Linked DNA regions of Homo sapiens: regions 1, 2, 4, 5, 6 and 7 are each linked to region 3. The links are contacts of gene promoters, found by promoter capture Hi-C in blood cells and fetal thymus (Javierre and others, 2016). All regions are on one chromosome and are shown on one strand. Each heading gives the region's core, a stretch centred on a gene start or on the middle of the fragment in contact. The rest is flanking DNA. Distances are from core to core; before and after follow the strand shown. Region 1 has its middle 3.1 kb from the start of OR1J2. Region 2 holds the start of PTGS1 (prostaglandin-endoperoxide synthase 1). Region 3 holds the start of OR5C1 (olfactory receptor family 5 subfamily C member 1). Region 4 has its middle 18 kb from the start of PTGS1. Region 5 has its middle 51 kb from the start of OR1J1. Region 6 has its middle 11 kb from the start of OR1J1. Region 7 has its middle 32 kb from the start of OR1J1.

Region 1 (4,108 bases), core at 329-2,828, 280 kb before region 3:
TAAGAATCACGATTGGCATGATAAATGACCATTTTCCTCAAAAGATCAATTTCAGAGAACCTGAAGCTTTTCAATTTTGAGTCATTTTTTCTAGATTTTGCGTGTCAACTTGTTTTTTTTTTCTATTTGCAAGTTTGTTTTCTTTTGTTTTTGTTCATTTAGTTTTCTTTCCCTTCTCTTCCTTCTCTCCTTTTTTCATTTCTTCCTTGAAAACTATTTTTATTTGATATAACCATACCTAAGTTTGTCAATGAAACAATAAAACCTCGAAAAAGATGATGATCTCTGCCTCTTTCTCCTTCTGTATTTCCTCATGTTCACCGGAGAGAAGAAACACAAGTCACTTCCTTTGGGCTACCTGATGAGTAGGACTCAGTAAGATCCCTTGGAGTGGGATATGGTTCTACCTAAATTCTCAGAGCCCAGCAGTCATATGGATTTCTTCTATTTAAACATGATTGGAGTCAGTATTTTTTTTAACCTCCCTAGGATTTATCCAAAGTGTGATTAAGACTAGAAAAACAGAGGGTAGAACAGAAGAGAGACTGAGGGTACTTTGAGATATTTTCTTTGTGTACTCACCCTCTAACGTTCCCAGGACAAATATCCTCCCACAGAATACCTTTCCCAGTGGAATCAAGGGGAAAATTGGACAATTAATCCATGTTTTATGGATATCTTTAACTGGAGATTACCAGTTCAATCTCCTACTCCCTAGAGTTTTCTCCTTAGTTAAGCTCTTCGATTCACAGCTCTGGGGCTGTAAACAGGAATGAGTTTGTACTTGTAGCTTTTATTCTTGGTGTCTGAGAAATGTCTAGAATCTTGGAAGCTGGTTTTTAGATCCCATAATGAGAACCTTAGGAACACTTATCCACCAAACATTGGATCATAAATGCAGGGAAGGTAAGCACTGGAGATGGAATGGGTATTTTTTCCCTCTCAGCAATAGATGAGTTTATAAGTGCATATAGACGAGGAAGAAACAGAAGGCAGCAGTTGGCATGGGGAGAAGAGATAGAATGTAAAAAGACACACACAGAGAGACAGAGGAAGAGAGAGAAGGAAGGAACAGAGAGATATTGAGTGGCAGACATAGACAGGATGAGAGAAAGGGGCAAAAGGAGAAAAAGATGAACGAAGAGAGAGACTGACATACTGGAGGAATATTTTTCTGCCTTGGATCCTGACATAGAAAACCAGATCTGAACAGCAAAGAATCCAAGCATTCCAAAGTTGTTTTGGTGTTTAAATCAGGAATTTTGGGAAGGCCTCCTACACTTCCAAAATGTGTCCTTCATTGGCTATAAAAATTATTCAACTGCCAACATTTGGGATAATTTTTCTTTGATGACAAGCATATTCCTCTCTGTTTACTCAGGACAACACAAATATGGTGCCTTATCTGTGGTAGGTTTCAAGGGTCTGTTTGTTGAATGAATGCATGTGCCTTATAAGGACAAACGTCTCTCCAAAGGAGTCACTTGTTTAGTTCCTGATGTTTGCTTGTGTCAGAACTGTCAGATAAGTCGTGACCTTTGAAGCAATCAGAGGGCACCTGAAGATGAAAAGAAGAATGGAGTTAAAAAGGGTCATTAAAGGGGAAAATACTTAGGAGGCTGGGATTAGGGTAAACAAAGTCATCTCTTTATATCTTGCTGAACACTCAGTTATCCTCTTGCCATTGGCTTTGAGTCTTGGTAGGCTGCTGAAGGACTGGCACTTGGCTGCCTTATAAATTATCCAGCTTATCCCCAAATACAGTCTACACCAAGGCATTGCATTCAGCTGCTAGGCATCAGAATATAAGCTACTTATGTGAGAACGAGCCTCTCTCCTGAATTTCCCTTTTGTTTTCCCTCCCTGGTAAGTAGTGCCTGTTTCTCACTTGTCTGAATGAGAACTCCAGCAGTAGAATGATCATTTTCCCCCTGTGCTCATATGTGTTCTATGTTTGTGCTCTTGGTTTGCCAGCAGTTTGTATACTCAATTCCACAACTTTGTCTAAGGAATCCACACCCAGAGTCCAGCAAAGGAATTAATATGAATAATTTTCTCCTGCGTGTAAAAGGACGTAAATTCCTCTGGCTCCTCTCTGGGTAGATTTGCATTTTGTCTTTAATTGTGGCAGGAGGGAAACCAATATTTGCTGAGCACTATGCAAGCAAATGTACTAGGGGTTTCAAATATGTCATCTCACTTCATCTTACAAAAACCTTATGGGGTATAATTGCATCCTGTTTAAAGATCTTCATCTTTCTGAGATTCGCAAGAGTTAAGAGACCTGCTATGGACAAAAATGCCACAACCAAAGTTTTATGATGACCAAGCCTATCTTATTCCAAAATCTGTGGCTTTTTCTCTAGTCTCACATTGCCTTCAAAGTGGGAGTAGAGGACAGAGAGGGAGGGAAGGAGGGAGAGTGAGGGGGGGAGAGAGAGAGAGGGAGAGAGAGAGAGAGAAAGGAGAAGGAGAAGAAGGAGAAGGGGAAGAAGAAGAAGAAGGAGGAGAAGGAGGAGGAGGAGGAAAAGGAGAAGATTAGGAAAAGGAAGATGCTTGAGCCTAGCACACTTGGAACACTGTGTTTACTGACCTCAATATGTATGTTAGGGTGGGGATGTCTTTAAGGAGTTAGGTTGAGGTCTATATATAGCTAGATTTAAAAACTGAAAGATTTGAAACCTGCCACCGACTTGTCTTCTGCTGAATTTTTGCTCTAGGCCAGAAGCTCATTGGATGGATAAGAGCCCTCTCTAACTCTCTGCCTTTTCTTATTAAAGGAAATTTTATTAAAGGAATATTCCTTATTAAAGGAATATTGAAATTTGTAGGAGAGGGATGGCATAGAGTCTCATTTATGATTAGTGACAAATGCTTCCAATGAGATAGCAGCCTTATTTCCCTGCTGGTTAGGTAAGGATTAGCTCTGCTGAGTGATTGCTTTGTTTTGTTGGATGCAAGATGGAAGCTGGGGAAGGACACATGGATTTTGTTGCATTCTGGTCCCTAGATAACCAGAATATTTGGATATACCTGAAGTCTTTCCAGTGCTGATGTATCAGTTTTCTATTACTGCTTTAACAAATTACCACAAGCTTAGTGCTTTAGAAAAACCTCACAAATGTTATTATATCACAGTTCTGGAGGTCAGAAGTCTAAAATGGGTATCAGTGGGTTAAAACTGAAGAGGTTGGCATTTCTTCGAGAGGTTCTAGAGCATAATCTTGTTTTCTTGCTTTTTTCTAGCTTGTAGAGCCCACTTGCATTCCTTATCTCATGGCCCCTTCCTTCGTCCTCTGAGCCAACAACATAACATCTTCGAATACGTCTCTGATTCAGACTCTTCTATGTCTTCTTCCACATTTAAGGCACTCATTATCACACTGGGCCAACCCAGATAATCCAGGATAAGCTCCCCATTTTAAAGTCAGCTGATTAGCAACCTTAATTCCATCTACAACCTTAATCCCACCTTGGAATGCACCACAGCAGATTTACAGGTTCTGGAGATTAGGATGTGGACATCTTTGGGGGTTCTTATTCTGCTTACCACAGCTGACTAGGAGGTGTTGTGTTTTAAGATGACAGGAGTACCCAAGAGGGAGCTGAAAACTTGGAGTACACTTAAAATCTCACTTCTTTTGCCATCTTTTGATAATAGCCTTCACAGTTTGTTATGGGATGAGTGTTATTGCCTAGGGAGGAAAGGGAGACTGGATTGCAAAAGAACTAGAAAATGCACACTTTGAATATAATTTAAGATAATGTCACTTAAACTGCTTTGTGTTGACAGTAAACAATAAAGCGTAAATAAATTTCCCTAAAGTATTTTCTCATAGCCAGTCTGATCTTTACTTTCTCAACATGCCAGGGAATCACAAGAAATCCACAACCACCAAGGGGAAGAAGTCTAAATGACGTTAAATGGAAATGTGCCTTCCCACAAGGTTGGAACAGAGAGGTTGGCAAGGGTGAGGGGAAAGGGAGGGCAAGAAAGAAATGGGAAATGTAGGAGAGATGCAGGTTTTGCAGGGCCTTTAAGCCATATTAAGGTTGTTACACTCTAATCTTAAAGGTCAATGGGAATCCTTTGAGAATTTTTAGACAG
Region 2 (4,005 bases), core at 541-3,040, 420 kb before region 3:
GCTCAATTGCTCCATGCTGGAACTGGACCAGTCCTCAGAGACCATCTGATCTGCTCATTCTGTTGTTCAAATGGGGAAACAGAGGCCCAGTGAGGCCTAGCGGCTTGTTTAAGGTCACGCTATGGAAGAAGTGACTTGAACTCACTTCTGATTCTGAGGTGAAGGCTCTTCCCATCAGTGCCAGGGCCACACAAGTGTTTCTTGTTTTGAGTGCAGATGGGTGGCTTGGAAGTCAGCAGGAGGCACAGGTGTGGTGACTTGATGGGCTCAGGGCCCAAAGGGAGGGAGGGCCTGGGAGTGGAAGATGGAACCTCATTCAAGCCCGTCTCTCCTTTCTTCTCACCAGAAACTCCCCCTTTCTTTGGACAACTGGACCCCCACACCTCCACCCTGTCCCCATCCCTTTTGCTGATAATCCCATCTCCTTGCCCTGTAAATGCTAGGGGGCCCTTGATTTGGGGAGGAAGGGAAGGCTGAAGCCGGTCCCGGCACCCTGAGAGCCCCAGGGCCCTCCAATGCCCCACTCCTTCTCCAGGTCTGCCCTGGCTTGCTCTGTCTCCCTAGGGCAGCTGGCTTTTGTCCCAGGGGAGCATGGGAACAGCTTGGGTGAGAATGGGGGAGGGGCTTCCCAGCAGGTTTCACCTCTCCCACCTGGCATAATTTCTACCCTGCACCCAGTGATGCCCAGGAGCCAGCACAAGAACCTCTGAGCTCTCCTGCCGGCTTTCCCCACTGTGGGGCCCACAGGATGGCTGGGTGTGCTGGGGAAACTGAGGGAGATGACTTGTGGGTGCCAGCACCATGGGACTTTGGGTGATCTTGGACCTATTCCTTCCTCCTTCTAGGTGCTTCCTGAGCTGGCGAAAAGGAGAGCTGGATGCTGGGATTCTATAAATTCGGCGGTGGATGTGAGTCTAGCTACAGCATGGACCCTGGCCAGCCCTGGAATCTGAGTTCAGAGATCTTTGAAAAAATGCCTTCCGATAACTGAGCACCTACTACATGCTGGACACTGCACCAGGAGATTTGTGTGCATTCCCTCATTGAATCTTACAACCACCCTCTGGGATGGTTTTTGCTATTAAGCCGATTTTATAGATGAGAATACTGAGGGCTAGAAAAGATAAGTACCTTGTCCAAGGTGACACGGCCAGTAAGCTGTGGAGTCTGGATTTGAACTAGGCTCTCTTGGAGTTTGGAGCCCGGTCTTTTCATTTCTGGCAGAGACCTGTGGCTTCAGGGGGCGGAGCCCAGCCCATGGGGGAAGTAAGTCCTTCCTGTTAGATCTGTCTGAGGAGTAGTGAGTTTCTCATCTAGGAAACCATCAGCAGGCCAGGCTGGACTGCCCCATTTCTAGCCCCCTTTCTTCTCTGCAGACTGCCCTGTTTCTAGCCCCTTTTCTTCTCTACCCTTTTCTGTAGAGTGCGTTAGACCCATTTTACAGAAGGGGACTCTGAGACCCTTTCTTCTCTGCGGGGCAGGGTATGTGGTTCAGACGAGCCGCTTCCATCCCCAGTTCTGTCCCTAAGCCCTGGGTGACCTCAGCATTGAGCATCGTCTCTGAGCCTCAGTTTCCTGTCTATATCTAGTGCCACCAGGCATCAGAAACGTAAGTGCTTCAAGGATCTTGGGTGAAAAGCCGCTTTAGCGGCGAGCATACACTAATTAATAAAATGCCTTGGCCGGGGCTGGGCAGAGGAAGTAAGCGGGCAGCCGAGGTGACAGCTGGAGGGAGGAGCGGGGGTGGAGCCGGGGGAAGGGTGGGGAGGGGATGGGCTGGAGCTCCGGGCAGTGTGCGAGGCGCACGCACAGGAGCCTGCACTCTGCGTCCCGCACCCCAGCAGCCGCGCCATGAGCCGTGAGTGCGACCCCGGTGCCCGGTGGGGAATTTTCTTGGCCTCCTGGTGGAGCCTTGAATGCCAGGCTCAGCCCCTCATCTCTCTCCTCTGCAGGGAGTCTCTTGCTCTGGTTCTTGCTGTTCCTGCTCCTGCTCCCGCCGCTCCCCGTCCTGCTCGCGGACCCAGGGGCGCCCACGCCAGGTAGGCGGCCCCATCCCTCCCCAAGGGAATCCCCGGTCTTGCGCCCCTGGCCTGGTTTCAACCCCCTCCTTTCCCCTCCAGCGGGCCCAGCTTCCCCTTTCTGCTCGCGGTGCTGAGAAAGACTGAGGCTGAGTCTTTTGGTGGGATGGGGGCTCCCTGAAGCCCCCCCGGCGGTGTGGCCTTGGCTAATGGGCTATCTAGTTCTTTCAGGGGAAACAGCAGACTGGGATCTGGTGCCAACTTGGGGAGAAGGGACAGTCCCTATCCATCCCCCTCACCTGTTCTGGGCCCCAGATGTCTAAGCAGCCTCTGCACCCAACAACCCCGCTGTTTCCTATAGGGGCCTCTTTGGGAGGAAGCCGCAGGCACCAAGGGAAATGAGTTCCCTTTCTCCAGCCTCTAACCGTCTGGGAACCCATCCTGATTCCCATTGCCAGTGGAGAAGGTCTCCCCTGGTGAAGACTTCGGGAGAACATGGGAGATGGAAATACATTTAGGAGCCGGGATGCTTCATCTGGGGTTTAAGAGATCCCCATTGAGCAAATGAGGAAACCGAGGCTCAGTAGGTGCCATGATTCCCCAAGCTCACAAAATACATGGTGGGCCCAGGATCTGAACTCAGGTCTGTCTGCGTCCACACACTTCGCAAGGTCTTTCCACAGAAAGCTGCTTCTACCCACAATGGACCCGGAGCCACTCTGGGTTTCATGGGGGAGGTTGATGGGGAAATTCCGCCCTTCCCTCCCCCATGCATGTGCCAGGTTCCAGGTGAAGGAATTCAGCTCCTCGCTCAGCCAACCTTCCTCCCCCAGCTCGCTGCTTGTGTGTGTGCGTGTGTGTGAGCATGTGTCCCAGTTGGATATAGTTTCCTCCACCACCTAGCTGTGTAAAATCTCTAAAATGAGGCCCAGAGAGGGCAGGAGGGAGCAGAGGGAGTCCGCACTTTCTGCTGTGATGCTCTAAGGATCTGGTGCGTGGGGGAAAGAGGAAAGATATGTACATGGATTTTGGATCAGACCAAGTTTCCTGAAACGGGCTTTGGGTGGGTGGCATTTAGGGGACCCAAAGAGAGGACGGAGGGTGCTCTAGGAAAGGGATTGCGTTGAATAAAAGTCTGGTTTATGGGAAGAGGAGGAGGAAGACTCATGTGGCCAGCACTTTAAAGTTTACAAAGGTTGGTTGTGGACATCCACCTCTTTGGTGCTCTCAACAGCCCTGCCAGAGAGATGCGTTAGACCCAGTCTACAGAAGGGGACTCTGAGGCCCAGAGGGAGTGAAGCCACTTGTCTGAATCCTCACAGTGAGCTGGTGGTGGGGAGTAGAAGGGGCTCTTCAGGTTGCCTCGCTGACCCATCTTGTCAGTCCCTGGATCAGCCCAGCACTTCCTCTGAGGCCCCATCTGGCCTCATCCAGGCACTCTTGGTATACAGGTCCCACCCGTCTGTATTCTTTTTTAGTCCATTCACTAATGCACAATGAGCCATGGTCTGTGCTATTTTGTTTTTTGCCTTTTCTGTTTCCTTTTGTATAATAAATGTTTACACGGAATTGTTTTTTTTTATCCCCAAGGGTTATTTATGCCAGTCTTTGGCTGGGGCCTGGAGACACGGAGCTGGGAGGAGCTGACAGGCTGATGGTGGAGCCAGAAATGCCAACAGACTGTCATCCAAGGGGACCAGGGCTGTGCGGAGCTCATGGGAGGAAGCAGGGGTATAGGGAGCCCAGGGAAGGGAGCAGGGGTGTGCGGAGCTCAGGGGAGGGAGCAGCTGCCTCTCAGTGCGAAGAATTGAGGGAGGCTTCTTGGATCTGATGACTTTTGGACTGGACCTCGAAGGAGGTGGCGGGTGGGGGAAACACTAAGAGACTCGACCAGGAAACACCGTAAGGGTAATGTGGAGCAGGAGGCTGAGGTTGGATGCGTAATGTGGGGATGAGACTGGAGGCCAGAAAACTGGTACCGAGGCTC
Region 3 (3,878 bases), core at 1,234-3,733:
GAGACACACATGTAAAAGATATTTGCAATAGAATGGTGAAGCAGCATGAGAGAGGTACAGCAGTTGTTCCCCTTTACCCACAGTTTTGCTTTCTGCAGTTTCAGTTACCTGCAGTCAACTGTGACCCGAAACTATTAAAAACAGGCTGGGTGCAGTGGCTCACACCTGTAATCCCAACACTTTGGGAAGCCGAGACAGACGAATCACCTGAGGTCAGGAGTTCGAGACCAACCTGGCCAATGTGGTGAAACCCCATCTCTACTAAAAATACAAAAAAATTAGCTGGGCATGGTAGCACACACCTGTAGTCCCAGCCACTCAGGAGGCTGAGGCAGGAGAATCACTTGGACCTAGGAGGTGGAGGTTGCAGTGAGCCGAGATCACACCACTGCACTCCAGCCTGGGTGACAGAGTGAGACTCCATCTCAAAAAAAAAAAAAACAAAAACAAAACAAAACAAAACAAAACAAAACAAAAAAAAAAAAAATATATATATATATATATATATATAAAAGTAAGATATTTTGAGGGACAGAGAGAGAGACCATATTCACCTAACTTGTATTATAGTACATTGTTATAATTGTTCTATGTTATTATTGTTGTTGTTATCCCTTACTATGCCTAATTTATAAATTAAGCTTTATCATGGATATGAATGTATAGGGAAAAAAATCACATATATAGGGTTCAGTACGATCTGTGATTTCACACATCCACAGGGGGTCTTGGAACGTATTCCCCATAGATAAGGGGGAACTACTGTATGCTCCAGTGCAGCAGGCCACAGACAAGAAAAATGTTTAGTTTTAAGGGACAGATCAGGGAAGGCTTCACACTGGAGAAACTTTTTACCAAACACAAAAGGAGGAAATGGGTTCCAGGCAAAGAGGACAAATGCAAGGCACAGGAGTGTGAAGCAACATTGCATTTTCTGGGAATTATACTACTTTTGATTGCCATAAAGTTGCTTCCTTCCAGTTTGGAGCCAGAGCATCCAGTTCAATTTATTTCCATTCGCAGGGCCTTTGTTAAATGCCTGCGTGTGCTAGGCCCTGTGTGAGAAGCTTTACATGCATTATCTCATCGAATCCTTGCAGCTTTCCCCCATTATCCAGATGAGAACATTGAGGCTCAGAGAGGCCAAGAATTCAGCTCAGGAATATATTCACATTTTCTGTTCTTTCTACTCCCCACTGTTTTCGCAAGATACCAGGCTACTCCTTTCTCCGATCTTACTCCAAAGGAAAGATGTCCCTACTAGCAAACCTCAAAAGCCATGGCCAGGTGCCCGTTGGATCTGAAGATTATTTCTGCTCATTCCACTGTCTCTTTTCTTACCTGGAAAACTGGAGAGGAGAATGCATATAGAGTCACAAAGTTTTCAATCATTGGCTGGACACTAAATATCATCCCATTCATTCATTTAACAAATCTTTTTTGAGCACCAGCTATGTGCTAGGCAATGCTCTCAGTGCTGTAGACACAAAAGTGAATAAGAGGGACAAGACCCCTGTGGGTGTGGTGGAGCATGCCTATAATCCCAGCTGCTTGGGAGGCTGAGGTGGGAGGAGGATCACTTAAGCCCAAGAATTTTAGTTCAGCCTGGGCAACATAGTGAGACCTTGTGTCTCTTTAAAAAAAAAAAAAAAAAGGCTGGGCGTGGTGGCTCACACCTGTAATCCCAACACTTTGGGAAGCTGGGGCAGGCAGACTTGAGATCAGGAGTTGAAGACCAGCCTGACCACCAACATGGTGAAACCCTACCTCTACTTAAAAAATACAAAAATTAGCCGGGCATGGTGGCGGGCACCTGTAGTCCCAGCTACTCGGGAGGCTGAGGTAGGAGAGTCACTTGAACCCAGGAGGCGGAGGTTGCAGTGACCCAAGATTGCACCACTGCACGCCAGCCTGGGCAACAAAACAAGACTCCATCTCAAAAAAAAGAAAAGAAAAGAAAAGAAAAAAGAAAAAAAGACGGGCCGGGTACAGTGGCTCATGCCTGTAATCCCAGCACTTCAGGAGGCTGAGGTGGGCGGATCACCTGAAGTTGGGAGTTCGAGACCAGCCTGACCAACATGGAGAAACTCCATCTCTACTAAAAATATAAAATTAGCCAGGCACGGTGGCACATGCCTATAATCCCAGCTACTTGGGAGGCTGAGGCAGGAGAATCGCTTGAACCCAGAAGGCGGAGGTTGTGGTGAGCTGAGATCACACCTTTGCACGCCAGCCTGGGTAACAAGAGCAAAACTCCATCTCAAAAACAAAAAAAGGCTTCTGCAATGACTTCTAAGAGTTAGAAACAGGTTTTGAGAGGTTACGTGGCTTGCTCAAGGTCACAGCAATTTTGTTGCACAGGTGAGCTGAAACCCAAGCCTACCTAACTCCCAGTACAGGATGCTTTCTTCTCCCTGGCCATGGCCTTGCCATTGCTCTTATCTCCCTCCTGCTTTGCCTCTTCTCAGTCTCTGTCCAGTAGGATGAACTCAGAGAACCTCACCCGGGCCGCGGTTGCCCCTGCTGAATTCGTCCTCCTGGGCATCACAAATCGCTGGGACCTGCGTGTGGCCCTCTTCCTGACCTGCCTGCCTGTCTACCTGGTGAGCCTGCTGGGAAACATGGGCATGGCGCTGCTGATCCGCATGGATGCCCGGCTCCACACACCTATGTACTTCTTCCTGGCCAACCTCTCCCTGCTGGATGCCTGCTATTCCTCCGCCATCGGCCCCAAGATGCTAGTGGACCTGCTGCTGCCCCGAGCCACCATCCCTTACACAGCCTGTGCCCTCCAGATGTTTGTCTTTGCAGGTCTGGCTGATACTGAGTGTTGCTTGCTGGCAGCCATGGCCTATGACCGCTACGTGGCCATCAGAAACCCACTTCTCTATACAACAGCTATGTCGCAGCGTCTATGCCTGGCCTTGCTGGGAGCATCAGGCCTGGGTGGGGCAGTGAGTGCCTTTGTTCACACAACCCTCACCTTCCGCCTGAGCTTCTGCCGCTCCCGGAAGATCAATAGCTTCTTCTGCGATATCCCTCCACTGCTGGCCATCTCGTGCAGTGACACCAGTCTCAATGAACTCCTTCTCTTCGCCATCTGTGGCTTCATCCAGACAGCCACGGTGTTAGCTATCACGGTGTCTTATGGCTTCATCGCTGGGGCTGTGATCCACATGCGCTCGGTCGAGGGCAGTCGGCGAGCAGCCTCCACCGGTGGTTCCCACCTCACAGCCGTGGCCATGATGTACGGGACACTCATTTTCATGTACCTGCGCCCCAGCTCCAGCTATGCCCTGGACACTGACAAGATGGCCTCTGTGTTCTATACCCTGGTCATCCCGTCTCTCAACCCACTCATCTACAGCCTCCGCAATAAGGAGGTCAAGGAGGCCCTCAGGCAGACCTGGAGCCGATTCCACTGTCCAGGGCAGGGGTCCCAGTGATTGGTCCAGGGAGGCTGGGTAGGTCTGACTATGAGGGGATGAGGAAGGTCGGGGCCTCTTTCTGGCCCCGTCACTGTCGGTAAAGATGGGATGTTCCTCTGGCTTGGATGTCTCATGTCATTGTTTAAGGGACAGTAAAGAGGGAAATGAAAGCTTATAGCAGGGAGAAAAAGATTTGGGGTTCATCTAGGGCTAGACCTAGAGCCAGACGCTAGACCAGGCTAATGTTTCTGTTGCACTGCCTCAGGTTCTTCAACATTCAAAACATTCTTCAATATTCAGCTGGGTGCAGTGGCTCATGCCTGTAACCCCAGCACTTTGGGAGGCCAAGGCAGGAGTTCAAGACCAGCCTGGGCAACACAGGGAGACCCCCCCACCATCTCTACAAAAAAAAAAAATTGTTAAAAATAAGCTGGGCATGATGGCATACTA
Region 4 (4,082 bases), core at 1,138-3,637, 440 kb before region 3:
TATTCTCAAGACCACGACTCGGGTCCAGCCGCGTCATTGTCCTCACCTGGTCTTCTCCCCACTCAGGCCTGTCTGCAATCCACTCCCCAGTCTACATCCAGAGGGACTTTGTTAAAATGCATGAATACTTATATTCTCCCTGCTTGAAACCATCAATGGCTCCCTATTACCCCCAGGACAAAACTTAGCCTTTTTGCCAGGCTGCCTCTTAGAATTGCCACCCTCTTAGAAATAGTCTCTTACAAACCCTCTAGCTCTGCTTCCCACAAGCCCCCTCTTTCCCCCACTAGCTGGGCAGCATAGCACAGTGGTTACAGGAGTAGATGCTAGTGCCTGGGTATCTGCTTTTTTTTTTTTTTTTTTTTTTTTTTTGCAATGGAGTCTCACTCTGTCGCCCAGGCTGGAGTGCAGTGGCGCAATCTCAGCTCACTGCAAGCTCCGCCTCCTGGGTTCACGCCATTCTCCTGCCTCAGCCTCCCCAGTAGCTGGGACTACAAGCGCCTGCCACCACGCCTGGCTAATTTTTTGTATTTTTTTTTTTTTTTAGTAGAGATGGGGTTTCACCCTGTTAGCCAGGATGGTCTCAATCTCCTGACCTCATGATCCTCCCGCCTTGGCCTCCCAAAGTGCTGGGATTACAGGCGTGAGCCATCAAGCCCTGCTGGTATCTGCTTTTAAATTTCGCTTTTGTCATTTGATAACTGTGTGACCTCAGTCAGGTTCCTTATCTCATTTTCCCAATCTCCAAAATGGGATTGATGATAATAGTGCCTAAGAGGCACTATTAACTGAAATATCACATAAGAAATTGTGCTAAGTTGGGCCAACTACAAGGTTAGAGGGCAGAGACTCCACACAAGACCACTTTCATTTCTTTCTTTCTTTCTTTTTTTTTTTTTTGAGATGGAGTCTGGCTCTGTTGCCCAGGCTGGAGTGCAGTGGTGTGATCTCGGCTCACTGCAACCACCACCTCCAAGGTGTGAGTGATTCTTCTGCCTCAGCCTCCCAAGTAGCTGGGACTACAGGTGCGTGCCACCAAGCCTGGCTTTTTTTTTTTTTTTTTTTTTGTATTTTTAGTAGAGACAGGGTTTCACCGTGTTAGCCAGGATGGTCTCGATCTCCTGACCTTGTGATCCGCCCGCCTCGGCCTCCCAAAGTGCTTGGATTACAGGCGTGAGCCACTGTGCCCGGCCCACCTTCATTTCTTAAAAATTTTTTTTAATTAAAAAATTAAAAAATAATTTTTTGTGTTAATTTTTTTCCCCCAGAGATGAAGTCTCACTATGTTGCCCAAGCTGGTCTCGAGCTCCTGAGCTCAAGTGATCTGCCCACCTTGGACTCCCAAAATGCTGGGATTACAGGTGTGCGCTACTGTGCCTGGACAAAAAATTTTAAAGTTTTAAAATTTATTCATTTATTTGTTTATTATTATTTTTGAAACAGAGTCTCAGTCTATCACCCAGGCTCGAGTGCAATGGTATGATTATGGCTCACTGCAGTCTTGACCTCCTGGACTCACGTGATCCTCCCACCTCAGCCTCCTGAATAGCTGGGACTACAGGCATGCACTACCATGCCAGGCTGATTTTTTATTTTTTGTAGAGACACAGTACCATTATGTTGCTCAGGCTGGTCTCGAACTCCTGGCCTCAAGTGATCCACCCATCTCAGCCTCCCAAAGTGCTGGGATTACAGGCATGAGCCACGATGCCTGTCCACCATCACTTCTGATACCAGCTACAAGTTCAAGAGGTTCCCCAAACCACCCTCAGATTCCGTAATTTGCTAGAAAGACTCACAAGACTCACTGAAAGCCGTTATACTCATGGTTATAGTTTATTACAGGGAAAGAATACAGATTAAGATCAGCCAAAGGGAGAGATGTATAGGGCAGAGCCCAGGGGGGTTTCTTTCAAACATGAAGTAAAGCTTCCATTGTCCTTCCCATGGAATCAGAATGTGTCACTCTCCTAGAATCAATGTGACAATATCTGTGGAGTATTGCCAACTGAGGAAGTGCATCTGAGCTCAGTGTTCAGAGTTTTTATTGGGGCTCTATTTTCTTTTCTCTAATTTACTTTATTGTAAGAATATAGCATATAATATATATAACATATAAAATATGTGTTAATCATCTGTTATGTTATTGGTAAGGCTTCTGGACAACGGTAGGCTATCAATGGTTAGGTTTTTGGGGAGTCAAAAGTTATATGTGAATTTTTGACTGCATGGGGGTCAGTTTCCCTAATCCCTGCATTATTTTTATTTTTTTGAGACAGAGTCTAGTTCTGTTGCCAGGCTGGGGTGCAGTGGCATGATCTAGGCTCCTTGCAACCTCTGCCTCCTGGGTTCAAGTGATTCTCCTGCCTCAGCCTCCTGAGTAGCTGGAATTACAGGTGCCTGCCACGATGCCCAGATAATTTTTGTATTTTTAGTAGAGACAGGGTTTCACCATGTTGGCCAGGCTGGTCTCGAACTCCTGACCTCAAGTGATCCACCTGTCTTAGCCTCCCAAAGTGCTGGGATTACAGGCATGAGCCACCGTGCCTCGCCACCCCTGCATTGTTTAAGGGTCAACTGTACTAGCTGTTATCCACTTGAGATGCAATCTACTTCTCACAGTTCCTCTAAAGGGGAACTCTCTGTCTCTGGGCCTTTGCACCTACTGTCTTCTCTGCTACGAACACCTTTTCTCTGGGAAGACCCTGGGGACTGAGTTAGGTGCCCTGCATGTACCTCACCTGCCTCCTCTTCTCCTCTTTCCCAGGACTTATCCCATGGTCATTGCCTGGTCAGTGGTCAATGTCTGTGTCCCCCATCACAGTGTGGGTACCTTGTGGGCACAGAAGCTTCTGTCTTATTCTTCCCTGTTCCAGGTGCTCGGCACAAAGTAAGCACTAAGGAACTGGTTATTTTATTATTTTTATTTTTGAGACAGAGTCTCCCTCTGTTGCCCAGGCTGGAGTGCAGTGGCGCAATCTCAGCTCACTGCAACATCTGCCTCTCGGGTTCAAGTGATTCTCCTGCCTCAGCCTCCTGAGTAGCTGGGATTACAGGTGCATGACACAATGCACAGTTAATTTTTGTATTTTTGGTAGAGACGGGGTTTCACCATGTTGGCCAGGCTGGTTTCGAACTCCTGACCTCAGGTGATCCACTCACCTCAGCATCCCAAAATGTTGGGATTACAGGCGTGAGCCACTGCGCTCAGCCAGGAACTGGTTATTAAGTTAAACTTTGAACTCTGTGCTATAGGACAGAACTTAAAAACTAGATTAGACTCAGAAAGGATTTGAAAATAAATGATACAAATCTGGTGAAAAGCCATGGTCAGAAGAGGGACATTTCCTCTACTTCATAATGACATTAACCATTTAAATGCCAGGTTCTGTGCCAGGTGCTTATCCATGCTATCTCTTTTCTCCTTTAAAGCCCATGCATACAATTATCTCCATGTTAGTGATGAGGGCTTGGCCATTTAGGGAGGCAAGGTGATTTGCTCAAAGTCACACAGCTAGTAAGGGCCGAGGCGGAACTCATGCCTCTTGGAGGAGCTTGCCTCCGAGAGCTTGTAGCCTCTGGAAACAGTGATGTTGGCAGGGAGGGTGATTGCTGCTTGCCTGACTCTGAGGGCCCACTGGGCAGAGAAAATGACCTGTGTTGTGGGCCCTGAGCAGCAGCAGGGCCAGCAGGAGGCTGGGGAGGTGGATTTCAGTTTCTTGTGTCCAAGAACGCAGGCTGCCTGACGGGGTGGCAGCAAATGAACTCTTGCCTTGCACATTTGCTGCCCATGTGCCTCAAGGTCCAGGCCTGGGCTGAGATCCCTCCTCTCTGTCTATCCCCAGTGCTGCTGGGGGTGGGGAGAGGGTTCTGGGGAAAGAGGAAGGAAGAGCCAGTCCAGCCAGAGGTCTGCAGAGGAGCCAAAGGAAGAGGGAAGGAAGAGGAAGGAGGGAGGGCTCGGAGTGAGGGCTCAGAGTGAGGGTTCTGAGATTCCCAGCTCCCTCCAGTGCCTGAGTTCGTGGGTTCTGAGAAACAAGACGCTCTCTGGGTTGGGGGTGGGCTGCCTGAATTTGACCTTTTGG
Region 5 (3,955 bases), core at 566-3,065, 360 kb before region 3:
GAGATGGGTCTTGCATGGCCATAGTCAACCTCAGTGATATCCTCTGTGTTGAAGGAGGCATAACATTATAGAATGAGATTGGTGAGAGCACTGAGGTAGTAGTGCACCTGATGTATTTAAGGAATAACAGACCAGTATGGCTGGACTGGGCTGAATGAATAAAGAGGGGCAGGAGCTGAGGTCAGAATGGCCACAGGACCAGTTCACATAGTCTTGTAGTCAGATTATTGCAAAGATTTTGGCTTTAATGTGAGCCAACTTTATCAATATTTTGTTTTTGCTACATTTTGATCTTATTTAGAAAATCTTTCCATAGCCTAAGTTCTAAAATATAACTTTTATTTTCTACAAAGTGTTTTTTCTAAAATTAAGTTTTCTAAAGCATAATTTATGAACAATAGCATTTATTCATAGGAAGTATTCCATTTGATGAGTTTTGACAACAGTATGCCGTTATGTAACAACTACAATGAAGATACACAATATTCTTATTGCCACAAAAGTTCTCTCCTACCCATTGGTAGTCACTATCCTTCTGCCACTCCTAGCCCCAGGCAAACGGTGATCTGATTTCCTGCTTCCTTTTCCTGAATGTCATACAATTAGAATGATATAAGATGTAGCCTTTTTTTGGTCCAGCTTCTTTGATTTTGCATACTTTTTTTGAGATTCTTCCAAGTTGTTGCACATATAAGTAATTCGTTCATTTTTATTGCTGCATATGGATGTACCACAATTTGGTTATCCATTCATCATTGGTGGACTGTCTCCACTGTTTGGCTACTGTGAATAAAGCTGCTCTAAACATTGGCATACAGTTCTTTGTGTGAACATATGGTTCCTTGTCTTTTGGGTAAATACCTAGGGATAGGATTGCTGGGTTGTATGGTAGGTATGTGTTAAACTTTTAAAGAAACTGCTAAACTGTTTTCAAAAAGGGCTGCTCCATTTTGCAATGGATACAATTTCCAGGTGCTTCTCTCACCAGAGCTTGGTATTAGCCATTTTAGTGATGTGTAGTGGTATTTCATTGTGGTTTTGATTTGCATTTCCCTAATGACCAGTGGTGTCAAGCATCTTTTCATGTGCTTATTTGCCATCTGTATATCTTCTTTGATTAAGTGTCTGTTCAGATCCTTTGCCCACTATTTGAGCTATTTGTCTTATAATTGATTGTGAGAGTTCTTTTTTCTAGATAAAGTCTTTATTAGGTATGTGTTTTGCAAACATTTTCTCCCAGCCTGTGGCTTGTCTTTACATTCTCTTAACAGTATCTTTCAAACAGCAGAAGTTTAAAATTTTGATGATGCTGAATTTAGCAGTTTTTTTCTATTATGGTTTTTGCTTTTTGTTTCTTATGTGAAAATTATTTGCCTAATCCAAGGTTACAAAGCTTTTCTTTTGTTTTCTTCTATAAGTTTTACAGTTTTAGCTCTTACATTTAAGTCCATGATCCATTTTGAATTAATTTATATATATGGTGTGAGTTAAGGATTGATTTTTTTATATGGATATCCAATTGTTCCAGCATCAGTTGTTGAAAAACTGTCCTTTCTCTATTGCATTGGAATTTTTGTCAAAAATCAATTGACCATATAACTGTAGATCTATTTCTGAACTCTTGTTTGATTGAGCTTTAAAACCAAAAGTACACTGTCTTGATTATTATAGCTTAGTAAGTCTTGAATTGCATGGTGTGGGTCTTCTTTCCTCCCCCAAAGTTATTTAGGTTCTTCTAGGTTTTTTGCCATTTCCATATAAATTTTATTTTAAAATTTTCAACTTACAAAAGAGCCCAATAGAATTTTGATTGAGATTTCATTGAACCAGTAGGTCAGGAATTGCCAAAAAAACACTTTCACAGAAACACATAGAATAATGTTTGACCAAACACCTTGTTACCATGGCTCAGCCAATTTGATACATCAAATCAACTATATAGTCTCTCTCCTGATGAATATCACCGTCTTTACCTTCAGTCTCTATTAATGGACTACATTTTTACCAATATTCATAACAAAAAATTAGAATTTTACAGTTTATCTGTAATTAGAAATATGTCTTCATACTTATAAAAGAAAGAATGTTTATGGTCAGGGCATGAGATCCTTTATGAAGATGCAGATTTAAAAAAATCTATACTTTTGCTATCCAGAGGTAACCACTGTTTCTACATTTTGGTAGATTTCCTCAAATTTATTTATATTTATGCCAAGTCTTATTCCTGAAGAATTTAAGGAAGCTTGGAAATACGTATAAAATACAAGATAAGATAAATGGAAAATGAGGTTAGAAAAAGAACAAAAGGGGGGATAAACAAGGGTGGAGACATAAAATTGAGCCAGGAATGACTCTGAAAATGCAGATTATGATGACTGTTGTTATGGGTGGGCCTCAGATTTGGCTCAGGCTTTCTGGTCAGTCACACAGTTCACTGGGACCAAAAGTAAAAATAAACCACTTGATTAGGTGAAATTATATCATCTGCGGTTCTAAGAACAGACACATTGCATGGGGTTTCTTTTAATCCGTCTTAATGTAGGCTTTGGCAATCAAATTGGGGTGTAAAAATTCACAGTAAACAATAGCTCAGAGGCAAAAAGAATGCTGTCTAGGTGCTCAGATTTCCAGTGGTTTGGGTGGACAACATATTGGATTTTAGTCTTGCAGGTAGGTATGGATGACCTGCATGTCCTTTGAGCAAGCTTCCCTAAATATATTTTCTTTTAGTTAAACTTTTGGTAAACACTGAGTATCAGTGACCACCAACTAATAGTCCCTCGTTGATACCTAAGCTGCGGCTGGTGTCTATTATCAATCAAGTAGAGGTGAATCCTATTTAGAGTTGGCAATCAAACAACACACTAGTATTTAGTGCAGGGCTTTCAGTCAGACAGATGTTTCAGATTCTAACTCCATAACTCAACTAACTGTGCAGTAATAAACAAGTTAAAAATTTCACCAAGTCTCCAGGTTCTCATCTATAAAATGTGAATAACATCAGTATCTGTCTTGTAGGGTTGTCGTTGGGATTAAATATGTTTACACAAGTAAAGTATGTAACACAATAACAAGAGTATAGTAAGTGTTCAATAAATGATATTATTATTATCTTTATAAAGCTGAGGAGACTAATGAGGACTTGTGCCTAGAAATAAGGCCATCAGACATCTGCTTCCAGGTGAGCTGAGACAGCACCCACCGAACGTGTTCCAGGACCCAAATAAAATCTTAACCTTAAACTACGTAACTTTTGAATGAACTCCCAGATTCCAGTGTATTCTACACCAAGGCATCTCAAGTGTTAGTCTGTGGATCAGTGTTTGTCCATAATGAAGTTTTCATGCATGAACTGAAAAAAAAAAAAAAAAACAACCCTGCAGAATTGGCTCTGTTCCCAGTACTCTTCTCTATCTTTAGGTTAATTTATATTTCTTGTAGAAAGCATTTAGTTGGAACTTTTTAAAACCATGGTGATAATCTTTGTTTTTTAAGCCTCTGGGAAGGAGGTAGTTAGAATATCTGCGTTTGATGTAATTGGTGATAGTTTTGAGTTTAAACCTACTTTTTAATTTTGGCCTTTCTTTTCTTTTCTTTTTTTCTTTCTTTCTTTCTTTTTTTCTTTCTTTCTTTCTTCTTTCTTTCTTCTTTATTCCTTCCTTCCTTCCCCCTTCCTTCCTTCCTTCCTTCCTTCCTTCTCTCTCTCTCTCTCTCTCTTTCTTTCCTTTCTTTCTTTCTTCAGAACCTCACTCTGTCGCCCAGGCTGGAGTGCAGTGGTGCAATCTCTGCTCGCTGCAGCCTCTGTCTCCCGGGTTCGAGTGATTCTCCTGCCTCAGCCTCGCGAGTAGTTGGAATTAAAGGTGCGCACCACTACACCCAGCTAATTTTTGTATTTTTAGTAGAGATGGGCTTTCACAATGTTGGCCAGTCTGATCTCAAACTGCTGACCTCAGGT
Region 6 (3,812 bases), core at 1,309-3,808, 320 kb before region 3:
ACCCCTGCAGGCTCTATGTTTTAAAAATTATGGTCCTTTGTCTTGTGTACAATTTTAAATCAATAGCTATAGCACACCCAAACTAATTTGGATCCTCAATGGTCATACTGGGGGGCATTTGAGCTCCCCAAACTTGTTTTGTTAGAACAAAATTAGAAGACTGTGGTCCTAATATTAAGCAATCTGAATGGGAAACATACTTTAATTGGTATCTCAAAGCTTCTAAGTACATTCAGGATTCTACAATTGCCTCCTTATGAGATACCATGTCAAAATTAACTGAGACAAACAAATAGTTAAGGAAGGACAAGGCTTGAGGATCCCAGACTTGTTCCTCGTTGGAGGAGACCTCCTCTTCTCTTTCCCCTGTTCCTTCTCTCTATTTCTTCTTTGAGTGAATTACCTTTCCCTCTGGATTCCTCAGCTCCCACTACCCCTGAACCTGGTCCTGTTAAAACCTGTCCCTTGAAAGTTAAATTCACTGATGATTCCTCTAAATCCTAAATTTCTTTTGTTCCTTGGAGCAAGGCTGAACTTTAAGCCATTGCCGCAGAATTCCCAAAGGTCATGGAGACCTTTCAAATTTGCTGATAAAATTAACACAGTATTATAATTTCGACTTATCATCCAGGTTTTTCTTACCTGTGCCAGTTGGTTCATATACTTTTTGTGAAGGCCAGGCCCAATATTGAATGGCCCAGGCTCCTTGATGTGACCCTGAGAGGGCTTTAGGCAAGAATACCCCAAAAGACTATGACAGAGCCTGAAGCACAGTGAGCAAGCAAGCAGACAAACAAACAAAAACAACAAAACTTCATGAGGCTATTCTTGAGGCTTTTCCTGAAACCTGAGATGAATAAAATCCAAGACTGTACCCAAAACCTAATGAACCAGATTACGACTATTACAGTTGGCTCCGGGTTGTATTTGTAGAAAATTCTGGATTACCTATGGATGCCGAATCTACTCAAGTAGGCTGTAATTCTAAGTTTGCAAATGGCCTTTCTCAAGAACTTTCTCAGCTTGTCAAAAGAGTACACATGGAATGGAAAACTATGTCCACTTCTGATTTGGTTAATCTGGCAAATCACCTTGCCTGCACCCCTGAGGACAGTACTAAAAACCACTAACATTCGTAATGTTACAATTACAGCAAACTGAGGCTCCCAGACATAACACTAGGCAGAGACTCCCTGGGCTGTGCCAACGTTCCAGATGGCTGGAAGAGAGATTGCTGCAAGAGAAAGGGGGAATTTCATTCCCAACTCCCCCATCTCTTCTCCCATCTGAGACCACTTTCAGTGAAGGGGCTCCAAGGACTTATGGGGGATTTTCCCACTTCTCCCACTTAATTTTCTGAGTGAAATGATCCTTCAAATTAGGAGTGTTTTTTTTTTGGCGGGGGACAGAGTTTCTCTCTTATCTCCCAGGCTGGAGTGCAGTGGTGCGATCTCGGCACACAGCAACCTCTGCCTCCTGGGTTCAAGCGATTCTCCTGGCTCAGCCTCCTGAGTAGCTGGGATTACAGGTGCCCACGACCATGCCCAGCTAATTTTTTTGTATTTTTAGTAGAGACGGGGTTTCACCTTGTTGGGCTTCAAACAACTGGTCTCGAACTCCAGACCTCATAAGCCACCTGCCTTGGCCTCCCAAAGTGCTGGGATTACAGGCATGAGCCACCACATCCGGCTGGGAGTGTGGTCTTAACTGTGCTCATTGATGCCACAGCAATATTTTTCATCCTTAATCCCCCTAGCCTCAGTCAGCCCCTGCCTCAGAGTAATAAAAAGATTACAAATGGTGAGTTTCCAAAAAGCCACTGACTACTTTTGTTTCACAGCCCATTTCTTTCCATCTTGGTCTTCTCTCCAAGACACCCACACCTTTTGCTTGTTAATTCTGCCCCGCTCCACCACCTTGGATGTGATTTTTTTGAAAAATACCATGCTAAAATTTCTTTTTCCCAAGAGGGGGAAATAATTTTAGAATTTGATAAACTAAACTGTCCTCACTCAACAGACTCCCCCAATTCTGTCATTTGTTATGTCATTCCCTGTTCAGAAAACAAAAATAATGTCACTCATTTAGTGCTGAATCAAATACCTGTCTCTTTAAAGGCAAAATCATTCACTGATATTTTCAAAATTCATAGTGTACCTCTTATTAAAATCCAGATTAACCTATTAAAACCCTTGCTTAATATTAAACAGCCACTAAACCAGATGGCACTGCAAGGTATTAAACTTATTATAAAAGAATATAAAAAACAGTCTCATTATTCTCTGTACCAGTCTTTGGAGTACCCTGATCCTACCTACTAAAAGACCAAACAACCATGGGAGGAGGTTTGTTCAGGAACTCTCTCTGAGTTATAAACCATAGTATTATTACAAAGCACCCAGTGGTTCCAAATCCCCATACTGTATTAAATCCAATACCCATTGATAGCAGATTCTTCACCATCACTGATCTGTGTATTACATTATTCATTATTCCAGGGGATCAAGCCAACCAATATCTTCTTGCCTTCACCTGGGAAGGCCAACAGTTCACCTGGACATTAATGCCTCAGGGGTTTACTGAAAGTTTTTCCTATTTTCTCAAATGTTAAAGGCAGACTTAGAGGATGTAATTTTTCTCCAAGGCTCTTGTTTACTACAATATGTAGATGACTTCCTTCTTTGCTGTCCTTCACAGGCAGCCTGTGAAAAAGACAGTGTATACCTATTAAAGCAAGTGGCTGCTTAAGGTCATAATGCCTGTAAAGAAAAACTGCAGTGAGTAAAAACTCAGGTGAAATAATAAAGCCATTTAATTTCAGAGAATGAATTACATTTAGAACCAGAACAGATTCAAGGCATTTTACAATTTCCTCAGCCCAAAAGAAATGCCAACTTTGTGAGTGGGTTTCTTGGACTCACTGGCTACTTTTGAAACTGAATTCCCAACTTTTCTTTTCTGGCCCAACTCCTATGTGCTTTACATAAATTTACCAAACCTGACCCCATTACTTGGACAAAATCATAAGGGTAAGTTTTTAAAAAGCTAAAGGAGAAATTGATAAATTCTCCAGTTCTAGGTAATTCTAATCATAAACTCTTTTTTTTTTCTCTTTGTCTGTGAAAAGGAAGAAAATACTTCAGGGATCTTAACCCAAAAGCATGGAGGTCCACACCATCCTCCAGGATACTACAGTTGACAACTGGATCCCATCTCCTGTGGATTCCCTCTCTGCCTAAGAGCAGTCCCCGCTGCATCCTTGTTAGTCAAGGCGACTGAGGAGATAGTCATGGGATTCCTCCCTGACTGTGTTTTTTCCTCATGCCATGGAAGCCGTTTTACACACTCATCACACTTGGCATTTTTCTGCTAGCGGACTAACCTCCTATGAACCTCTTCTACTTACTATTCATCATATTATTCAATCATGCTGCAATAACCTTAACCCTGTGGCTCTCTGGACCTCTCCATCAGATGAAACACCACATGGCTGCTTAACTCTGACAGACCAGCTTTTAATTCCTTGGGAGCAATTCCTGTGGACAATGCTGAGTTGTCCTGGTTTACAGATGGCTCACATTTAAAGAATGAGTCTGGCAAGTATTGTGCAGGCTGTGCAGTCGTGACTTCCTTTGAGATTGTGAAAGCAGCTCATTTACTATTAACTACTTCAGCCCAGCAGGCAGATCTGTTTGCCCTCGCTTGAGCCTGACTCCTTGCTACAGGAAAGACAATGTTTATGTAAGCAGCAGGTAAGTGATATGGCTTGGCTCTGTGTCCCCACCCAAATCTCATCTTGAATTGTAGTTCCA
Region 7 (4,265 bases), core at 695-3,194, 340 kb before region 3:
AATAACTGGGTGTAAAGCTGAAAGTAGTGACTATGCAGTGTATTCCTGACTTGCCTATTTGTATAGAACTTGTGTCTAAGATTCCTGATGAGGTGGTTGACTAGTCTGTGTTCTGGTCACAGGTTTATCTGAGCTACAAACATGGACTGGACATGGCCCTTGAGTCCTGATTTTCCACACCCAACCTATGGTCACATCCTGGAGATTCTGCCTCTCCCACGTCTCTCAGTCTGTTCACCTCTCTCCATGTCAGCTCTTCCTGCCCTTATGGAGACCTTTATCATGTCTTGTCTCCAAACCAGGCTCCTTGCAGAGATGACGGCCCCCTTTCAATCCATTCTCTACATTGTAGGCAAATCAGTTTTTATAAAATGCAAGTTTGAATACATCATTGTATTATCTTGATAGGGCTGCAGTAACAAAGTACCACAAACAGAATGGCTTAAACAACAGAAGTGTATTTGTATTGTCTCACAGTTCTGGAGGCTGGAAGTCCGAAATTGAGGTGTTGTCAGGATTGGTTCCTTCTGAGGGCTGTGATGGAAGGATCTGTTCTGAACCTTTCTCTCTGGCTTGTAGATAGCTGTCTTCTCTCTGTGTCTCTTCATATTGCCTTCCTTTATGCACATGTGTTTCTGTTTCTGTATTCAAACTTCTCCTCTTTATAAGGACACCAGTCGTGTTGGATTATGACCCACCCTCATGACCTTATCTTAACTTGATTATCTCTCTAAAGGGCCCATCTCCAAATAATGCCACATTCTGAGGTACTAGGGGTTAGGACTCCAACATATTTTTTTTGGAAGGGGCACAATTCAGCCATAACAGTGATGTTTGTGCTGCACAAGCTTCTCCATGGCCTGCAGACTTAAAGCTAATCTCCTTCCCATGATGGGCTCCTGCTGGGCTCTGCTCCATCTTTTGCCTTTCTCCCTGACTTCTTGCATTCCATGTGCCCATTGTAAAATATTTCTTGCTGCTTCTTGCCTTAGGGACTTACTATTCCATCTGCCTGAAAATGCCCGTTCCCTCTCTCTGTTAGCCCTGGTGATTAGTCCTCACCCTTTGCCTCAGATTAGATATTGCATCCTTTTGGAAGCCTTCCTGATGTTCCTCCACGATAGGCAACCCTCTCACACACACGACCTGGAACTAAATCAGTACTTACAACACTGTCTTCCCCACTAGACTGTGAGCTGCCTGAATACAAGAACTGTGTCTGGTTCCTTGTTACCCCATCCCACCTGGCATGGTGCCTGGGACACAATGGTCCCTTGATAAATATTTTCGAGATGAAATAATGCTTAGATGGACATTTATAATTATGAACAGATGTAAAGAAGAAATGCAACAGACCTCAAGCCACTATCTAAAGAGCAGCATTCCATTTAAGTCACTACAGATGGGACAGAGACCAACCAGAATGGCGGGAACCCCTCTCCTTGAAGGTGCCTCTTGGTCTCTTACAGCTTCAACTTTAAAACAGACTCCTAGGGACTCTGAGTTGGAGAAATTCCTAGAGATCCATTAGGATCATTTTAAAGAAGGGAGAAATTGGAGCATGATGGGAGGAAGAACCTTAATTATCCTGACATTTTTATTGTTAGTCAAGACTGGTACCTGGACTTCTTGGCTTCTCCATGAAAAGAGTAAATGGTTTGCCTGTAATAGAGGTCATGTGCATGGAGGTTAAGAGAATGGGTGCTGGTCCACTTTTTAGGTATATGGTCCTGCCTCTTATCAGGCAAGTGATCTAGGGCAAGTCACCTAACCTCTCTGTGACACGGTTTCTCCATCTGTGAAGTGGGGACAATGGGAGTACCTATCTCAAAGTTGAGAAGATTTGCTGAACAAAAGCATGTTAAAGCACAATGCCCAGCAGGTGGTCAACATCCCCATCCCCAAATGTTAGTATTTATACTATGAGGAAGAGAAAATATTTTAGTAAAGTAACCAGTCATAGCTAAATCTTGGAAGCCTGCCTGGTCTGCACTTAGATTAACCAAACATGTAAAAATCAGAGGTTTAGTCATAGTGACCCCTCATTCCTTTCTGTACACATGGATAGTGCTTGATTTCATTGGGTTCATTTGGACAATAACACATGAATAAGCCTTTCCTGATTCACTGGGGTCTTATCAAAACACTCAGAGTGATTTTTTGCCCATGTTTGACTCATGGACATTTTGGAACCCACCATTCTCCCATGGAGGGCAGTGAGGAAGGCATACATGATAGACGGGGCTATTTAGTCATGGCGCCTCCTGTGTCCAGATGTTTTATTTCCACTGTCCAGAAGCAGAAGCCTTTTCCACACTGTGTCTGCAAATTTATTCAGAAACCACACTTCAGCTGAAGGCTCCAGCCACCTGACATTTCCCACTCATTAACTCCCTAGGGGAGAACAAGGATACAAGAAGAGGGAAGCAGAGTGACAGTGGTCATAGGTTTTCCTGATACTGCTTCAGATCCCTGACTCATTCCCCACCTCTGGTCCCCAGCACCATCCTAACTTCCCATCCTAGCAGACAGAGTGACCCAGAACCACTGAGTGAGGACCTGTGTGGTCTGGAGACCCTGTCCCAACTGTAATGCTTTAACCTTCCTTTGCCAGGCCTCCTTAGGGCCCTTTGTGCTCCAAGGGAACAGGGTAGTCTCTCTCCCAGCTCTTCCCTCAGGGAACTCTGCTCTATGACTTCTCCAATTTGTTTTGTTTTGTTTTGTTTGTTTCTTTTTTTTTTCTCTGAGATAGAGTCTGGCTCTGTCACCCAGGCTGGAGTGCAGTGAAGTGATCTCCGCTCACTGCAACCTCTGCCTCCTGGACTCAAGTGAGCCTCTCACCTCAGCCTCCTGAGTAGCTGTAACTACAGACATGTGCCACCACACTTGGCTAATTTTTGCATTTTTTTTTGGTACAGACAGGGTTTTGCCATGTTGCCTAGGCTGGTCTCAAACTTTTGGGCTCAAATGATCCACCCGCCTTGGTCTCCCAAATTGCTGGGATTACAGGCGTGAGCCATCATGCCTGGTCAACCTTTTCCAAGCTTAGCAAGCAAAGGACAGCCCAAGGAGATGGAGCATGTCATTGCCTCTTCCCTAGTACTGAGAATATTCCCAGAGCTTTCATGGTCATATCTCAGAGGTGTGACTCAGCTTCCCCATTTGTAGGTAACTCAGGTTGAGGAACAGGAGTGAGTATTTTGGAATATGAGGGATGTCTATAAAAGTGAAATGCTATTTTGTCTTTTGGTATGGGATAGCTTAATATTGGGGGACAATAGTTTTCAGGTAATGGAATAGTGTGGCTTGGTTGTGTGTGTGTGCGTGTGTGTGTGTGTGTATTTATGCTAGTCCAGGGACAAGTGATGAAGGTAGATTAGAGTTATGTTGGTTTACAAATTCTATCAGGTTCTTTGGATTCTCGGGATATTGACAATGTCGGGGGCTCTTTAAGTGCTGAATTTTCAGCATGTAGTAAGAATAGTTTTACATGATTTATCTATTGGGGAAACTCTAAGAATTGTTCCAGTTTTAGTTGCAATAGTGGCCCTCCAGCTCCTTCCAGTTACTGGCCTCTGACAGAGCAGGAGTACTGTTATCTTGGACAAACAGCTCCACTTTAAGTTCCAGCTCCCTTTCTAACCTCATGCATTTCAAGGAAATCACTTATCTTCTAACAATAAGCAGCCAGAAAGAGCAGACGGTAAAACACAGATAAGACAGCTTGGGCACAGAGAGAGGGGGAAAGTCTCTTGGGTAACCACCAAACTTCACACTCACAATGGGCCCCAGTAAAACAGTGGGTCCTAATAAGTACATTCCTTTCCCTTTAGGTGCACGAAGATAGGGAAGCTAAAAGCAGACTCAGGGGGTATGCCTGCAGCTGCAGGAAGATGTGTGGGAACAGACACAAAAACCCTCCCTCCCAGATAAGCAAGACAGACAAACATTCCAAGCCCGTGATAAGCTCTTCTGCCTTGAACCCTTAAAACCTCTCAGTCTGTAAGAGAGAATGCCTCTGACCTAACTTGGCCAGAAGCCCCTCTCAGGTTTATTCTCCAAAATAAACCTCTCTTTGACTGTTGAGCCACTTTTTGTGTTTCTTTCTTCTTTCTTTAATTCTTGTAGCCTCTGTTACTGGGCATGGAGTCATCTGTCTTCTATGGAGCACCTCTGTCTTTTGGTCAAAGAGGGAAAATGAAATCCTGGCCCTATGGATACTGGGAAGCATACTCAAGTATCTCTGTACGTATCAAATGAGACAA

What was found. Contacts are between HindIII fragments. The CHiCAGO score rates a contact against its expected background, and 5 or more counts as called.
Region 1: a contact is called between a fragment that was not itself captured here and the fragment with the promoter of OR5C1 in region 3, in 6 of 17 cell types (endothelial precursors, M2 macrophages, M1 macrophages and 3 more). The highest score is 12.6, in endothelial precursors.
Region 2: a contact is called between the fragment with the promoter of PTGS1 here and the fragment with the promoter of OR5C1 in region 3, in 10 of 17 cell types (naive CD4 T cells, total CD8 T cells, endothelial precursors and 7 more). The highest score is 8.6, in naive CD4 T cells.
Region 4: a contact is called between a fragment that was not itself captured here and the fragment with the promoter of OR5C1 in region 3, in 1 of 17 cell types (naive CD4 T cells). The highest score is 6.5, in naive CD4 T cells.
Region 5: a fragment that was not itself captured here is called in contact with the fragment with the promoter of OR5C1 in region 3 in 7 of 17 cell types (total CD8 T cells, activated CD4 T cells, naive CD8 T cells and 4 more); the score reaches 7.8 in total CD8 T cells.
Region 6: a fragment that was not itself captured here is called in contact with the fragment with the promoter of OR5C1 in region 3 in 8 of 17 cell types (endothelial precursors, megakaryocytes, M0 macrophages and 5 more); the score reaches 12.1 in endothelial precursors.
Region 7: a fragment that was not itself captured here is called in contact with the fragment with the promoter of OR5C1 in region 3 in 1 of 17 cell types (endothelial precursors); the score reaches 5.2 in endothelial precursors.

What each region holds. Positions count from the first base shown.
Region 1 is chr9:122,505,696-122,509,803 of GRCh38, forward strand. It overlaps a transcript of OR1J2 not described here. Among named protein-coding and RNA genes, the nearest start is that of OR1J2, 3.1 kb to the right of the region's middle. The HindIII fragment of the contact is 3,029 bases long and covers 65-3,093 here.
Region 2 is chr9:122,369,234-122,373,238 of GRCh38, forward strand. It overlaps PTGS1 (prostaglandin-endoperoxide synthase 1), which reads left to right and starts at 1,791. Exons shown (of 11, transcript NM_000962.4): 1 at 1,791-1,858; 2 at 1,953-2,039. The coding sequence starts at 1,852. The HindIII fragment of the contact is 9,806 bases long and covers 1-4,005 here.
Region 3 is chr9:122,786,450-122,790,327 of GRCh38, forward strand. OR5C1 (olfactory receptor family 5 subfamily C member 1) reads left to right here and starts at 2,484. Exons shown (of 1, transcript NM_001001923.1): 1 at 2,484-3,446. The coding sequence starts at 2,484. The coding sequence ends at 3,446. The HindIII fragment of the contact is 2,532 bases long and covers 1,066-3,597 here.
Region 4 is chr9:122,351,110-122,355,191 of GRCh38, forward strand. No RefSeq gene overlaps it. Among named protein-coding and RNA genes, the nearest start is that of PTGS1, 18 kb to the right of the region's middle. The HindIII fragment of the contact is 920 bases long and covers 1,928-2,847 here.
Region 5 is chr9:122,424,529-122,428,483 of GRCh38, forward strand. No RefSeq gene overlaps it. Among named protein-coding and RNA genes, the nearest start is that of OR1J1, 51 kb to the right of the region's middle. The HindIII fragment of the contact is 849 bases long and covers 1,392-2,240 here.
Region 6 is chr9:122,465,434-122,469,245 of GRCh38, forward strand. It overlaps a transcript of OR1J2 not described here. Among named protein-coding and RNA genes, the nearest start is that of OR1J1, 11 kb to the right of the region's middle. The HindIII fragment of the contact is 4,683 bases long and covers 218-3,812 here.
Region 7 is chr9:122,443,301-122,447,565 of GRCh38, forward strand. It overlaps a transcript of OR1J2 not described here. Among named protein-coding and RNA genes, the nearest start is that of OR1J1, 32 kb to the right of the region's middle. The HindIII fragment of the contact is 2,196 bases long and covers 847-3,042 here.